Linked DNA regions of Homo sapiens: regions 2, 3, 4 and 5 are each linked to region 1. Evidence: promoter capture Hi-C in 16 types of primary human blood cells and fetal thymus (Javierre and others, 2016). All regions are on one chromosome and are shown on one strand. The core of a region is centred on a gene start or on the middle of the fragment in contact, and the rest is flanking DNA. Distances in the headings are between cores, read along the strand shown.

Region 1 (2,700 bases), core at 79-2,578:
ACTGCCTACAAACTGGACCAAGACTTGCAAATTTTGGAAGCCCCAGACGTTGGGACTTTAGCATCAAGACCTAAAATGCCCAACTTTACCTCTACCACTGACCCCATACTCAGTAAGAAGTTAAGAATAAATCCAGCCTACAAAAATTTACTGACCGAAAGCTGCCTATTACCAAAAGATATAAAATCCATTGCAACTTTAAACCTACCGGCTACCAGAGAAATTTAATAGTAACTACTACGTGTCTTGGTGGGACAATAAAGTGTTCTAATCCATTGAATATTACAGTTCATATTAGCACATATTCATAGCACATACCATATAACTTTTTATTAAACAAAGAAGACTTCTTAGAGTTTCGTAGTTCTTCAGAATTTTTGTGGAAAATATTAATTTCATTAAAGAAGTACTTGAGTTCTTAATTAAAATCTGGTCTAATTTGATCAATAGAAGTTTACATATTTTAATGTTTGACAATTTTAAGTAGTTGGTAATTGTCATAATGCCTAACTTTTTAATCTTCTCCTGCCTATCCCATCTAAATACCCATCTAAATGCCTAGTGTTAATCTCGTGTCTTCTATCAGACTTCTACATACTCATCTACATCCTCAACCACTGAATCCTATTGCACTTATAGTCAACGCCACACAATTCTTTAAGTATTTCGCGTGTATGTCTTCAATTAGATTGTAAGCTTCTTGGAACTGGATCTATGCCTTAATTTCTTTCTAATCTTCCCAGCGAGCCTACAAGTTAATTTGGGGAGTATACAGCGTTCAACAAATACTGGTTGGGTCTGTGACCTTAGCTTTGCCATTTTTGTCAAAGCGTATAACCATCTAGTTTCAATTGTGCCCTGACATGACTATTTCTCTGGGGTTTCTCTTTGCTCAACGCCATTGTTCATTTTCTATTAGAATAAAGGGCTTGTTGAACAGAGATGCCAACGCAGCGTCCCGTGGAATCTGAATAAACGGACTGATCCACCGCCCCGGGTGTTGAGGCTGTGAACAAAAATTAAACCTCTGATAGCCCACGAACAGCTTAACGACACATATTTTAAAATACCACTCCAAAGCCTAGTTACCTGCCAGTTACCCCGGCCTCCGGAGCTGCCGATGCTCGAAGATGTTGACAAGGCAGCTAGGATATACAGTCCAGAAGCCCAGTCGCTACGGTAACGGTGACACGCAAGTGCACTTGCGCGGCCTTCTGACGGAAAACCTTAGCCTGAACCTACAGACGTGCTTAGCGACGGCAGAGGCTTGCGGCAGTAGCGTGACTTACGGCAGCTCTCTAGCAGAGCGCCGTTGCTGGGGGAATGCAGAAGCGGCCGCGGGCTAGCAAGCTCCCGGAGCCGGCGGCGCACCACCATGACCCAGTCGGTGGTCGTACAGGGTAAGCTACGCCGGGCGGGTAGAGACCTGGTCGCCGCGGAATCCAGCGGCCATGTTTCCTGCTTAATGTCCTATTCTCTTTCCTTCCTCTCCTCCGGTCGCAGTCGGCCAGTGCGGAAACCAGATCGGCTGCTGCTTCTGGGACCTGGCACTAAGGGAGCACGCCGCGGTCAACCAGGTACCCGCCCGCCGCCGCGAGCCCCCTCGCCTGTCAGCTAGGTCTTCCAGCCCATACGCAGGAAATAATCGACTTGAGCTTTCATCTGACCCGTTTAAGATGCATGGGATCTTCCCAGTAAAGAACGTACTGGTTTTTAAACATGTTGCGTCAGACACACACTAAACTAAAAGAACACTGGCCAGCGACCTTAGTCTTAACGTTTTTCCTGATTCTCAGGGTCTCCTCTTTATTGGTGTTCGTGTGCAGAACAGTGAGATTTGTATATGGGAAAGTACTTTGTAAAATAGATAACACGTGTGGTTATTGTATTCCTTAATTTAACCAGTCAGCTTTTAAAAAGATTACGAAGAATCCAGAGAACGCTCATTTGATGGACCTGTCCTACAGTCCTATGGGTGAAATCCTTTCTTTAGCACCCCCTGCTGAACTTTTTATCTGTAGATCTGGCATTTACTCTTCTAAGGAGATTGGGAAGAGTCAGGCTCCGCATTTTGTGATACTTGGTTTTTCTTATCAGAGTCTCATCCTAGCCATTACAGTATTATGTAATTAAAATTGAAAGAACTTGATTTGGGCGAGAAGCAAAACCTAAATGCTATTAACATATGTTTTTCTTTTTAGAAAGGAATTTATGATGAGGCAATAAGCAGCTTCTTTAGAAATGTGGACACCAGGTAAGATGGGATTAAAGTCTGTCACAGTGTGATACTTTAAGTTTCAGTAGCTTGGGAGAGAATTCTTCAAAGGACAATAAAAATAGCCAGCTGCGAAGTTGTGTTTTTTTGTTTCATTATTGAAAGCATATTTATTCTATTAGATTATTAATATTCTTATATCATTTTCCCGAAGAAGACAACAGATTTCCCTTTAGTGTGACTTCTTTTAACTTAACCTTGAAATAAGTTTCATTAAAAGAAAGCTGAAATTTTCCCAGAGGGCATCTTGTTAATGCATCCTGTAATAACTAACTTTTGAAAGAAAAATATATTGTTTACATATATGCTGTAAGTATAAAAATATACTTAAAAAGGTGACAAGCAGTTGTTGGATTGTTTTTGTTTATTTAATAAAGAGTATATGTAAGTACCATATATGTTTTATCTGGAAGAGTAATTTAAGT
Region 2 (2,717 bases), core at 156-2,655, 730 kb after region 1:
TATCCTGGGCTACATAGGAAGACCCTGTCTCTACCAAAAAATAAAAATAAAATTAGATGAGCATGGTGGCGCGCACCTATAGTCTCAGCTACTTGGGAGGCTGAGGTGGGAGGATCACTTGATCCTGGGAGTTCGAGGGTGCAGTGAGCTGTGATTGCGCCACTACACTCCAGCCTGGGCTACAGACAGAGCAAGACTCTGTCTCTTTGGGGAAAAACAAAAAAAAGAAGTAAGTCTGTATTTTGGGGATTATTATATTAAGATGTTATGTCACATCTGAAATGTGATATTTACTTGTATTTTCTGTTTGATTGGCTGAGTGGATTAGAGCTTGCTACAAAAGAGGATAAATTCATTCACTCATATACTCTCTACTTAATCCAGCTATCTTCACAGCACAGGCTGCCTGCCAAAGACTAGGACTTTGCAAAAATATACATCAGCTACAGTATGCATTGGAAAGAATATGTGAATGGGTCACTGTAAATTTATTTGTATGCAGAAAACAAACTCAAAGCACATATCTGACTGGCAGTAAGATAGAAATTGGAGTATGTTTTCATTGTTTACACCTGTGCTGTCGTATGGTAGCCGCTAGCAGCATGGATATTGAGAACTTAAAATTTGGCTTATACAACTGAAGAACTGAATTTTAAACTTTATTTAATTTTAATTTAGATTTTAAAACATAGTTGACTCAAAGTATGTTTGGAACGACTTAGGTATGTAATACTATTTTTTACTCTTAAGTTGTATGAAATTACAGATCAAGTATTTCTGTAGAAAATTTAGCGTGCACAGTGAGATATACTAGAAGGATAAAGTACATACTCATTTCAAAGACTTCATGGAAAGAATAATTTAAAATATTTTGTTAGTAATTTTAATATTGATTACATGTTGAAAGGATAATATTTTAAATATATTGGATCAGATCAAAGTGTTTTTAAATTAACCTATTTTTATTTTTTTAAATGTGACTACTAGAAAACTTTAAGTTACATGTGACTTTCATTATATTTCTATTGGACAATGCTAGTTTTATACAGTCACTTTATGTCTTTGCTTTTAAAGCAGAGGATTAGTAACCACCTTTAAGTTATAATTCAATTTTTAAGTGTGGTTTTTTTTCTCAAGTCAATTCTGTTGTAAACTGTTCTAGAGATTAGATTAACATAAACTGAGGGAAAAATTTTAATATTGTCCTCCTTTGTTCTTCACATTTGAACTGAGAATTATGTTTTTTTAGAATTAGATTGGAACATAGTCTCTCCCTCATTTATTCATTTGCACATTTTTCTCATTCAGCAGCATTCATTCAGTTTCTGTTTTATACCTAGGTCTATACTAGCCCCTGAAGCCTAGATAAATTAAGTGATAAATTCAGTAATACATACCATCAAATGCAAACTTGAAATTAGCAAATTTTTAAAAACTTTTTTAAAAATATGTATTAAAGCAAATTTGATAGACCATAGCAAAAAGACATGTTACATTTGATTATTCTCTTATTTGAAAAGTACGCTTTTCTACATTTTCCTAGGTAACCCTGTTTCAGAACCATGGGCCCTCTGGAAGTTAAAATCACTCTGGAGGTCTCACTGGTTGCTCTGACAGCTTCTTCCTCCCGATAACCGGCTTTCCTCATCTCAAGGCACATTCCAAACTGCCGCCCGGTGGTTGAAACAGGGAATAAACCAAAGAAAAAATACTGTTCTCTTCCTTTCTCTAGGAAATTATGCTTGTGGCATTTTCTCCCTCTGTTTCCATTACCCTAGGATAATCTCTCTTTCTTCTGCACATCAGTACTCAGTGCAGAAGACAAGGGTTGTAATCTTTGTCCCCCTTCTCACCTGCCTCTTGCCTAGTCACACTCACTAAATCTCTCAAGCCATGTCTTTATATAGTTTGCTTTAAAAAAATACCCCCTAAGCACAGTAATGCATTTTGTTATTAAGGAATAGAAATGCAAATTTTGAGTGTGAAAATTTGATCTAGTAAACAAAAATCAACCTCTAAGACCCTTTTAACCTAAAATTGTTTTCAGAGTCTTCATGTCTTTTCATATGTTCATCCCTTTCTTTTTTTTTTTTGTTTTTTTTTTTGTGTGTGTGTGTTTTTTGTTTTTTTTTGTTTTGTTTGAGACATAGTCTCACTCTGTCACCCAGGCTGGAATGCAATGGCACAATCTCAGCTCACTGCAACCTCCACCTCCCAGGTTCAAGCAGTTCTCCTGCCTCAGCCTCCCTAGTAGCTGGGATTACAGGCATGCGTCACCACACCCGGCTAATTTTTGTATTTTTAGTAGAGACGGGGTTTCGCTACATTTGCCAGACTGGTCTCAAACTCCTGACCTCAGGTGATCCACCTGCCTCAGCCTCCCAAAGTGCTGGGATTACAGGCATAAGCCACCGTGCCCGGCCTCATATGTTCATCCCTTTCTAATGAAACTGGTTGTTTTGTTTTATTTGGGTTTGTGGGAGGAGTTTTCCATTTAAAAATTTTTTATTTACTAAATTAATGCATGCTTATTGTTAAAATTAAGTTCTGAAGAGTATGCATTTAAAAGTAAAAGTTTTTTCCCTTAGCTCTCCATTTCATGTGGTTTGATTTTTTTTTTAATACTAATATTTTAAAGTAGAAACAGCAGTATATGTTTCTGAGGAAAGTGGTAGATTTGTATTTGTTTTATTATTATGCCTTATACATGCATAATT
Region 3 (2,700 bases), core at 86-2,585, 870 kb after region 1:
GGCTTCCCCATGTTGGGCAGGCTGGTCTTGAACTCCTGACCTCAAGTGATCCACCTGCCCGGCCTCCCAAAGTGCTGGGATTACAGGCATGAGCCACAGCGCCTGGCCGAAAATGACTTTTTATATATTTAATTTCCCTCCCAGCCTGCAAATCCCTTGAAGTCAGAATCTGTACCAAAAAAAAAATTCATCTTTGGACTAGATATTATGAAGTTTAAGGATCCTGTATCTGGTCAGTGCTCAATCAGCTCAAATTCATTAAACACTTGATTTTTTTTTAACCTTTAAAACTATGTATACTTCACTGGCAGAGATTATAGATAAATTTAAGCACCCCAGAGTTAAGGCTTATTATATTATTTTGAGCCATTGAACACTTTCAGTTCAGTGTTAGAGTAGTTAATAGAATTGAACACCTGATTTTGCCTACTATTTGGTAGGCACTGTGCTATGTGCTAGAGGTTTCAACAATGAATAAGATTTCGTTCCTACCCTTGGGTTATGGAAAGATGGACATTTAAATAAATAAGTGCAAGTGAAGTGTTTATATGCTGCCGTAGTTATATATTCAAAGTATGATGGGTACAAAAAAGGAGGAAACAGTCAATTTAATAACTTTTTTAAGGCACAGAACCTGTTAAAACTGAACCATTCATGGCCGGGCACGGTGGCTCATGCCTGTAACCCCAGCACTTTGGGAGGCCGAGGTGGGCAGATCATGAGGTCGGGAGATCGAGACCATCCTGGCTAACAAGGTGAAACCCCGTCTTTACTAAAAATACAAAAAAATTAGCCGGGCGTGGTGGCCGGCGCCTGTAATCCCAGCTACTCGGGAGGCTAAGGCAGGAGAATGGCGTGAATCCGGGGGGTGGAGCTTGCAGTGAGCCGAGATCATGCCACTGCACTCCAGCCTGGGCGACAGAGCGAGACTCCGTCTCAAACAACAACAACAACAACAACAACAACAAAAACTGAACAATTCACTAGTCAGCAGAAAAAATTTTTAAAAGCATCAAGTTTTTTAAAAGTATGCATATAATAGCAACTATCATTTATTTAGTGTTTACCAAGTGCCAAGCATTGTTGTAAGCACTTTAGATTGATTATCTCACTGGTGATCCTCATAACAACTTTATGAGGTGGTACTAATGTTATCTCCATTTTGCTGATGAAGATAGTGACGCTGGGAGAGGTTAATGTGCCCAAAGCACAGAAGATGGAGCCGTCCTGGAACCATGGCCCACGGGGGCAGCAGCAGGCTGTGAACAGAACTGTGCCTGGAGGGTGCCCTCCAATAGCAGTCAGGCTAGGGAGGAAGGAGAGACCAGATAAAGCAGCTGTATGCATCACTGTCCTCATCTGTTCTGTTTTTCCTAGGCCCTACTAGCACACCTACGGACCTACGGAAGCTGGAGGTTGGTAGTACACCTCGGGGCAGCCACTCACAATCTGAGGGCCTCTGAAGGTGCAGAGTGTGAGTTCTGGGTGGAATTCAGGAGTGTTGGTTTTCACAACTTTAACACAAGTGGTCCACTGACACCAAAATAGGAAACATGCTCCTGAAAACTGTTTCATATTGGGTTAGTTCTTTTTGACACCATCATATCATACAGTTCGGTACATTTTTTCTTCAATCACTAAACTATGGTCTTATGGTAAAATTATGATTCGTTTAGGAATACGAGTTGGCCGGCTGGGCGCGGTGGCTCACGCCTGTAATCCCAGCAGTTTGGGAGGCTGAGGAGGGCGGATCACGAGGTCAGGAGATCAAGATCATCCTGGCTAACACGGTGAAACCCCGTCTCTACTAAAAATACAAAAAAAAAAAAAAAAAAGTTAGCCGGGCGTGGTGGTGGGCGCCTGTAGTCCCAGTTACTCGGAGGCTGAGGCAGGAGAATGGCGTCAACCCAGCAGGCGGAGCTTGCAGTGAGCCGAGATCGCCCCACTGCACTCCAGCCTGGGCGACAGTGTGAGACTCCCTCTCAAAAAAAAAAGAAAAGAAAAGAATACGAGTTGGGCATTTGAAAAATAAGCCTAGCACTTCACACTAGCATTTCAAAAGAACAAAATCTCCCCATTCTCCTGACTTTTGTTTGCCAGTTAAATATCCTTTTCTCCAATGCAACTTCCATGACAGCACAAGCATAATTTCTTAGTGGTGAGTAATTGTTGGGCCTACAGCCTGGCAGGTTGGAAAGAACTGGGGCTCAGAGGGACACTACCAGGTTCTAAGCTCTCTATGACCTTGAGCAAGTAAAAAGACTTCCTGATACTTCCCATTTATTGAGACAAAAAGAGATTTAAAGATAAATCAAAATGTAGAAAAGGGTTTGAAATTAACAAGCAGGTAAAGATTTAAGTAGTAATTTTTATTGAAAATCTAAGTAGATAAACCCCAATTTTTTATTTTTGAAACAGGTCTCACTTTGTTGCCCAGGCTGGAATGCAGTGGTGCGATCATAGCTCACTGCAGCCTCAACCTCCTGGGCTCAAAGTGATCCTCCCACTTTAGTCTCCCAAGTAGCTGGGACATGCCACTATGCCCGGCTAATTTTTTATTTTTTGTAGAGATGGGGTCTTACTATGTTGCCCAGGCCATTCTTGAACTCCCGGGCTCAAACAAACTACTTGCTTTGGCCTCCCAAAGTGCTGGGATTATAGGCGTGAGCCACTGCGTCCAACTCTAATATTCTTAACAAT
Region 4 (2,700 bases), core at 103-2,602, 630 kb after region 1:
AGTTTAGGTTTCCAAGAACCTATCAACAAAGTTAAGTGAAAATTTACTGTATGTCTTAAATATTTTAGTGAAAAATTTAGAGAAGGATTATTCTGTATTTCATCAATTCTAAGAAGTATATTTTCCCTCCTTGTGCATCTCAGTAATTAGGATATGTCTTACAATCAGTAGTGCACCATATTTACTTAACAGCACTTTTCTTAGTACAAAAATTAATTATGTCATAATCACTAGCATCTTGGATTCAGTGAAATATATTAATAGTTGTTTAGCTTAGTGCCATTCTAAATTGAATCTCTTTATTTGTTGTAACATTAACCTTTCTTCTCTTCGGACAGTTTTGGCCTTGGCTTAACTTCCTAGCTTTGTTCACTTGGAAGCTTGATAAGGTAGAATATCAGTTGTATAACCGAGCACCATTGCTTATGGTAATAATGACTCATGATTACTGAATTGCATAAGGACCAGAGGAGGACTGTGAATGAATTGTAAATACTGGTACTTATACCGTTAACAGCTTTGGACTTCCCTGAGTGTGATAACTCTTGCAACTAAGCAAATCTGTTGCTGAAGCTCAGGAAGCTATGCCTATGAGACTGGAGATATTGGTTGCTATTTGGTACCTGTAAGCTAGAGTAGCTACTGCAAGGACCTTATGCTCTCATTCTCTTACACTTGATCTGCCACCTGAGAGGGCCAAAGATACTAGCCCCCGAATTGCAATGAGGACTCCTGCCTGACATGTTAAGTATAACCAGCCTGTTTGGGTTATGTGAGTCTCGGTGTCTAGTTAGGCCTAACGGGGTGTTGTACTTACATTCTGTGGCTTTATTTTGTTTTTAATATTTGCTGAGTGAATCTATATTTACTATTTATTCGTCATAAGAATTTTAAATTATAAATATGAGCACATCTCTACTAAGTAATGCCAAATTGTTTTCCAAAGTGATCATACCAATCTATACTCCCACCAGAAGTGTGAGTTTCTGATGTTCCACATCTTCACCAATATTTAGGATTGTCAGACTTAAGTTTTAAATTAGGAATTAATTTAAAACATCTCATTGTGGGTTTGTACATTTTTCATCACTAGTGAGAGATTGAGTTTTTCCATATGTTTATAGCCTACTCGTTCTATAAAATACTGAGAGATGTGTTGAAGTCTCCAACTTAATAGATTTGTCTATTTCTCTTTCCAGTTCTATCAGTTTTTTTTTCATGTATTTTGAAAGTTTGTTAGATCCATACATATTTAAGATCGGTGTGCCTTTCTGGCGGACAGCCTCTTTATCTCTGGTAATATTCCTTGTTCTGAAATCTTCTTTGCCTTGTATTAATATAACCACTTCAGCTTCCTTTTGATTAGTATTTACATGGTATATCATGTCAAAAACTGAAGTTTGCCATGAATTTCATACATATTAGCAATAGACATGAGATTTCCATCTCTCCATTGTATCACTTATTAATAAAGAGTAACTGGGGAGATGGTTGCAGACCAGATACTGAGAAGTAGGTTCAAAGGCAGCTACCTCAACAGAGACCCATGGAGAATTGTCTCCCAACATATTTTTTCTGTTTTTGTTTTTTGTTTTACTTTCACTTTCAACCTATCTGTATCTTTACACTTAATATGGGTTTCTTATAGTCAGCATATAGATGGGCTTACTTGTTTATCCAGTCTGATAATCTCTGTCTTTCATTTTGACATGTCTCTTTTATTTAGTGTGTTTAGATTGTTTATATTTATCAACATTGGTAATATGGTTGGATTAAAATCTACCACTATGGTATCTGGTTTATGTTAGTCTATCTGTTCTTTTTTTCTTTTGGATTACTTGGACTTTTTAAAAATTCCATTTCTCTCCGCGGTTTGCTTATTTATTTATACCTCTTTCTGAAATTTGTTTAGTGGTTGCCCTAGGGTTTGCCGTATATTTGTAATTAATCACAGTTTTCTTGATATAATAATACATAGCTTTATATGTAGTATTAGGACCTTATAGTTCTATACTCCCATTTCTCCTCTTCATCTTTTATGTTTTTGTTGTCATACACTTTACTTTTATATATATGCAATCAACATGCAATATATTACTACTCTAAGACTTTACAGTATATTGCTATAGATTTTATAGAACTGTTCATGTAGGTTATAATAAATTTATTTTTAAAAAGTCTTCAATAATTAGCCTTACCTTACTGTAACTTTTACTTTATTAACTTCTTAGTTTTTTAAACTTTTTTACTCTCTTACAATAACTTAGCTTAAAACAAATACATTGTACAGCTGTACAAAAGTATGTCCTCATTCTGTAAGCTTTTTTCTATTTAAAAATTTTTAATTTTTACTTTTAAAACTTTTGTTAAAAACTAAGACGCAAATACATTAGCCCTAGGCCCACAGAGAGTCAAGCTATAAATATCACTGTCTTCCACTTCCACATCTTGTCTGGAAGGTCTTCAGGGACAATTACACACATGGAACTGCCATCTCCTATGATAACAGTTCCTTCTTCTGTAATATCTCCTGAAGGACTTACCTGAGGCTGTTTTACAGTTAACTTTCCTTTTTATGTAAGTAGGAGTACATTCTAAAATAATGATAAAGTATATAATAAATACATAAGCTAGTAACTGTTACCATGATCAAGTATTATGTACTTAACATAATTGTATATGCTATACTTTTATACAACT
Region 5 (2,745 bases), core at 125-2,624, 530 kb after region 1:
AAGATGTAGTTTCTGTTTTAACTCAAGAAAGAAAAAGAGAAGGTTCATGTCATACTTCTTATCTCTTGTACATAAAAGTCAAGATGTGTATGGTTTTTGCTGGCTGTTCCAGGGAGGCATTTCATTGCACATAGTTCAGCTCTCAAAGCTAATGATTACAGGAATTAAATCTATAGTTACCTGAGTGAACTTTGCCGTGATTCATATGAGGCTTTTCACACCAGAAGGGTCTGCCAGCAAGTTTGGAGAATGGGGGCAAAACCACCTGAGGCCACATTCCATGCTTGGCAAAGGGAAGGCAGTGGTGGAGTAAACATGTTGAGAATCAGACCACAGCACCCTAAACTCAGGCCCTGTTTCACCCTGGAGGGATCCTCAGATGTCAAGACTGCACTGAGACCCCTGCCCTGGATGAGGGAGGCTCCAGTTTATGGGAACGGGACACCTCAGGCTGTATGGTGCACAGCCTGTGCGATGGCACACCTTTCTATCCTCCCTGCGCTGCCTTTGCCCAGGGTCTCACTGCTGTCACTTACTGATGAGTCTCCTTACTGGTCTCATCTCCACTTTGACCTTGTGCTAGCCATCCTCTCCTCTGCCATCAAAGAGGAACATCCAAAATGTAGGTCTGATCTGTTTCTTGGTAGCTTACAAATTTTGTGCCGTTTTCCCATTGACTACAAGATCATATCCACCTTTCTTAGCACGATCTATGAGGCCTCTCAGAAGAGGACTGTGTCCCCTTGCGTAGTTTTCTCTCATCACCCTCTGTAGATGCTGTGTGCTCTGGTCACCCTGGACCATTTCAGCATGCCCTCACACATGCTGTGTTCTTTTGTCTCTGTGCCTTTGCCTTTTCTGTTCCGTCTGCTTGCAATGCCCTTCCCTAACTTGCCTGCCTAGTGAACTCTTACTTACCCTTATATCACCCAATCTCTCTAGCCTCCCCGACACCTCTTTTGGTTGTTTGTTTTGAGACGGAGTCTTGCTCTGTCATCAGGCTGGAGTGTAGTGGTGTGATCTCGGCTCACTGCAACCTCTGCCTCCAGGGTTCAAGCGATTCTCCTGCCTCAGCCTCCCGACTATCTGGGACTACAGGCATGTGCTACTATGCCCAGCTAATTTTTGTATTTTTAGTGGAGATGGGGTTTCACCATGTTGGCCAGGATGGTCTTGTTCTCTTGACCTCGTGATCCACCTGCCTGGGCCTCCCAAAGTGTTTTTTTTTTTTGAGACAGGGTCTTGCTCTGTTGCCCAGGCTGGAGTGCAGTGGTGCAATCTCAGCTCACTGCAACCTCCACCTCCCAGGTTCAAGCAATTCTCCTGCCTCAGCCTCCCAAGTAGCTGGGGTTATAGGTGCTCGCCACCACGCCCAGCTAATTTTTGTATGTTTAGTAGAGACAGGGTTTCACCATGTTGGCCAGGCTGGTCTTGAACTCCTGACCTCAGGTAATCCACTCTCCTCAGCCTCCCCAGTGCTGGGATTACAGGCGTGAGCCACTGCGCCCTGCCCTGACACCTCTTTACCTTCATGCTGATATATTTCATTGTCCCTTTCTTAAGGGTGCTTAATTCTAGCACCTTGGGTCAATGGTATGTGTTTGGGTTGAGGGTACTGGGAATAATTGTTGAGAATTATTGGAGCATGGCGATATACAAAATAGACCAAATTTTCATTGGTTTTGTTATTATTTTTAAATCTCCTTCAGACAATGCCCGTATTACCTGAGCCCAGCACAGGCCGCTCTCACCACCTGTCCCCTTGGTACACCATTGACTAGAAAATCATTTGTTGACATTTTGCTTTCATCCTAAGATTTGAAGTCCTCAAGGCAGTCCCTGCGTCCTTTTCATTTGGGCATCCTCAGTACTCAGTATGATGCCTGCCATGCAGCAGGTGCTGCTTCTAAGCACAATACCTAGAGAAGTCCCGTCCTATAGTCCCTAGGAGTTAGACTCAAAAGCAAAGGCCTTATGGTGGCCTACAGGGCACTATCCGATACAGCCCCTTCTACTTCCAGACCTCTGCACCTACTCACTCTGCTCTACTCACAGTGGCCTTGTTGCTTGTGAACAGACCCAACACACTCCCTCCACAGGGCCTTCGCACTGACTCTCCTATCTGCCTGGACCCAGACAACCACAGAGCTTGCTTCTTCCACTCTTTTAGGTCTTTGCTCATTTTCTCAGTGAGACCTCTCCTAAGCACCCCGTTTAAAACTGCAAATCTTTCACCCTTGCCCCAGCACTCCCTGTCCCCTTTCTTGTTTAATTCTTCTCCACAGCATACATCACTGTTGAACACACTATCCATTTACTTATTATCTGCCTCTCCCCACCAGAACATCCACTCCATGAGGGCAGTCTGACACTGCACCCCCAGGATCCCTGGCTAACAGTTTCTGCCTCTGCCTGATCACTGAGGTCTGATGGGCTCCTTCTACTGCAGGCCAGACCTGGGGCTGGAGTGAAAGAGTAATGAATTGATTTAAGCCTACGGCCCTGGCATACTTCTTCTGAAGTCACAGGGGAATTCACATCACTCTGTGTGACCTCTGTCCTACCCCTTTTATGTGAGGGTGGTGAAAAGCAAGTTGAAATGCAAAGGGTAGGTAGTCTGGGAGACTGACAGAAAATGCTGTGCACATGTGGTTTTTATAATGAGATATACAGCTTGTACCCGAAGCCAAGAACATTTCACATGCTAAACCTTTCCAAAAGCAAAACAGCACAACTCCCAGGATA

What was found. The method cuts DNA at HindIII sites, captures the fragments that hold promoters and counts their contacts. A CHiCAGO score of 5 or more calls a contact.
Region 2: a fragment that was not itself captured here is called in contact with the fragment with the promoter of TUBE1 in region 1 in 1 of 17 cell types (total CD8 T cells); the score reaches 5.6 in total CD8 T cells.
Region 3: a contact is called between a fragment that was not itself captured here and the fragment with the promoter of TUBE1 in region 1, in 1 of 17 cell types (fetal thymus). The highest score is 5.2, in fetal thymus.
Region 4: a fragment that was not itself captured here is called in contact with the fragment with the promoter of TUBE1 in region 1 in 2 of 17 cell types (non-activated CD4 T cells and total CD8 T cells); the score reaches 5.5 in non-activated CD4 T cells.
Region 5: a fragment that was not itself captured here is called in contact with the fragment with the promoter of TUBE1 in region 1 in 1 of 17 cell types (total CD8 T cells); the score reaches 5.6 in total CD8 T cells.

What each region holds. Positions count from the first base shown.
Region 1 is chr6:112,086,110-112,088,809 of GRCh38, reverse strand. It overlaps TUBE1 (tubulin epsilon 1), which reads left to right and starts at 1,328. Exons shown (of 12, transcript NM_016262.5): 1 at 1,328-1,400; 2 at 1,504-1,577; 3 at 2,202-2,254. The coding sequence starts at 1,376. FAM229B (family with sequence similarity 229 member B) reads right to left here and starts at 1,219. Exons shown (of 4, transcript NM_001033564.3): 1 at 1,090-1,219. RefSeq lists enhancers at 1,159-1,348, 1,083-1,614, 1,749-1,798. The HindIII fragment of the contact is 2,028 bases long and covers 699-2,700 here.
Region 2 is chr6:111,360,808-111,363,524 of GRCh38, reverse strand. All of the region lies in intron 16 of REV3L (REV3 like, DNA directed polymerase zeta catalytic subunit), which reads left to right. Among named protein-coding and RNA genes, the nearest start is that of SLC60A2, 100 kb to the right of the region's middle. The HindIII fragment of the contact is 3,484 bases long and covers 1-2,717 here.
Region 3 is chr6:111,215,706-111,218,405 of GRCh38, reverse strand. The region is part of intron 4 of SLC16A10 (solute carrier family 16 member 10); the gene reads right to left. Among named protein-coding and RNA genes, the nearest start is that of SLC60A2-DT, 42 kb to the left of the region's middle. The HindIII fragment of the contact is 7,253 bases long and covers 1-2,700 here.
Region 4 is chr6:111,460,971-111,463,670 of GRCh38, reverse strand. The region is part of intron 1 of REV3L (REV3 like, DNA directed polymerase zeta catalytic subunit); the gene reads left to right. Among named protein-coding and RNA genes, the nearest start is that of REV3L, 21 kb to the left of the region's middle. The HindIII fragment of the contact is 1,940 bases long and covers 383-2,322 here.
Region 5 is chr6:111,559,668-111,562,412 of GRCh38, reverse strand. All of the region lies in intron 8 of TRAF3IP2 (TRAF3 interacting protein 2), which reads left to right. It also overlaps TRAF3IP2-AS1. Among named protein-coding and RNA genes, the nearest start is that of TRAF3IP2, 45 kb to the left of the region's middle. RefSeq lists a silencer at 1-80 and an enhancer at 2,550-2,745. The HindIII fragment of the contact is 4,561 bases long and covers 1-2,745 here.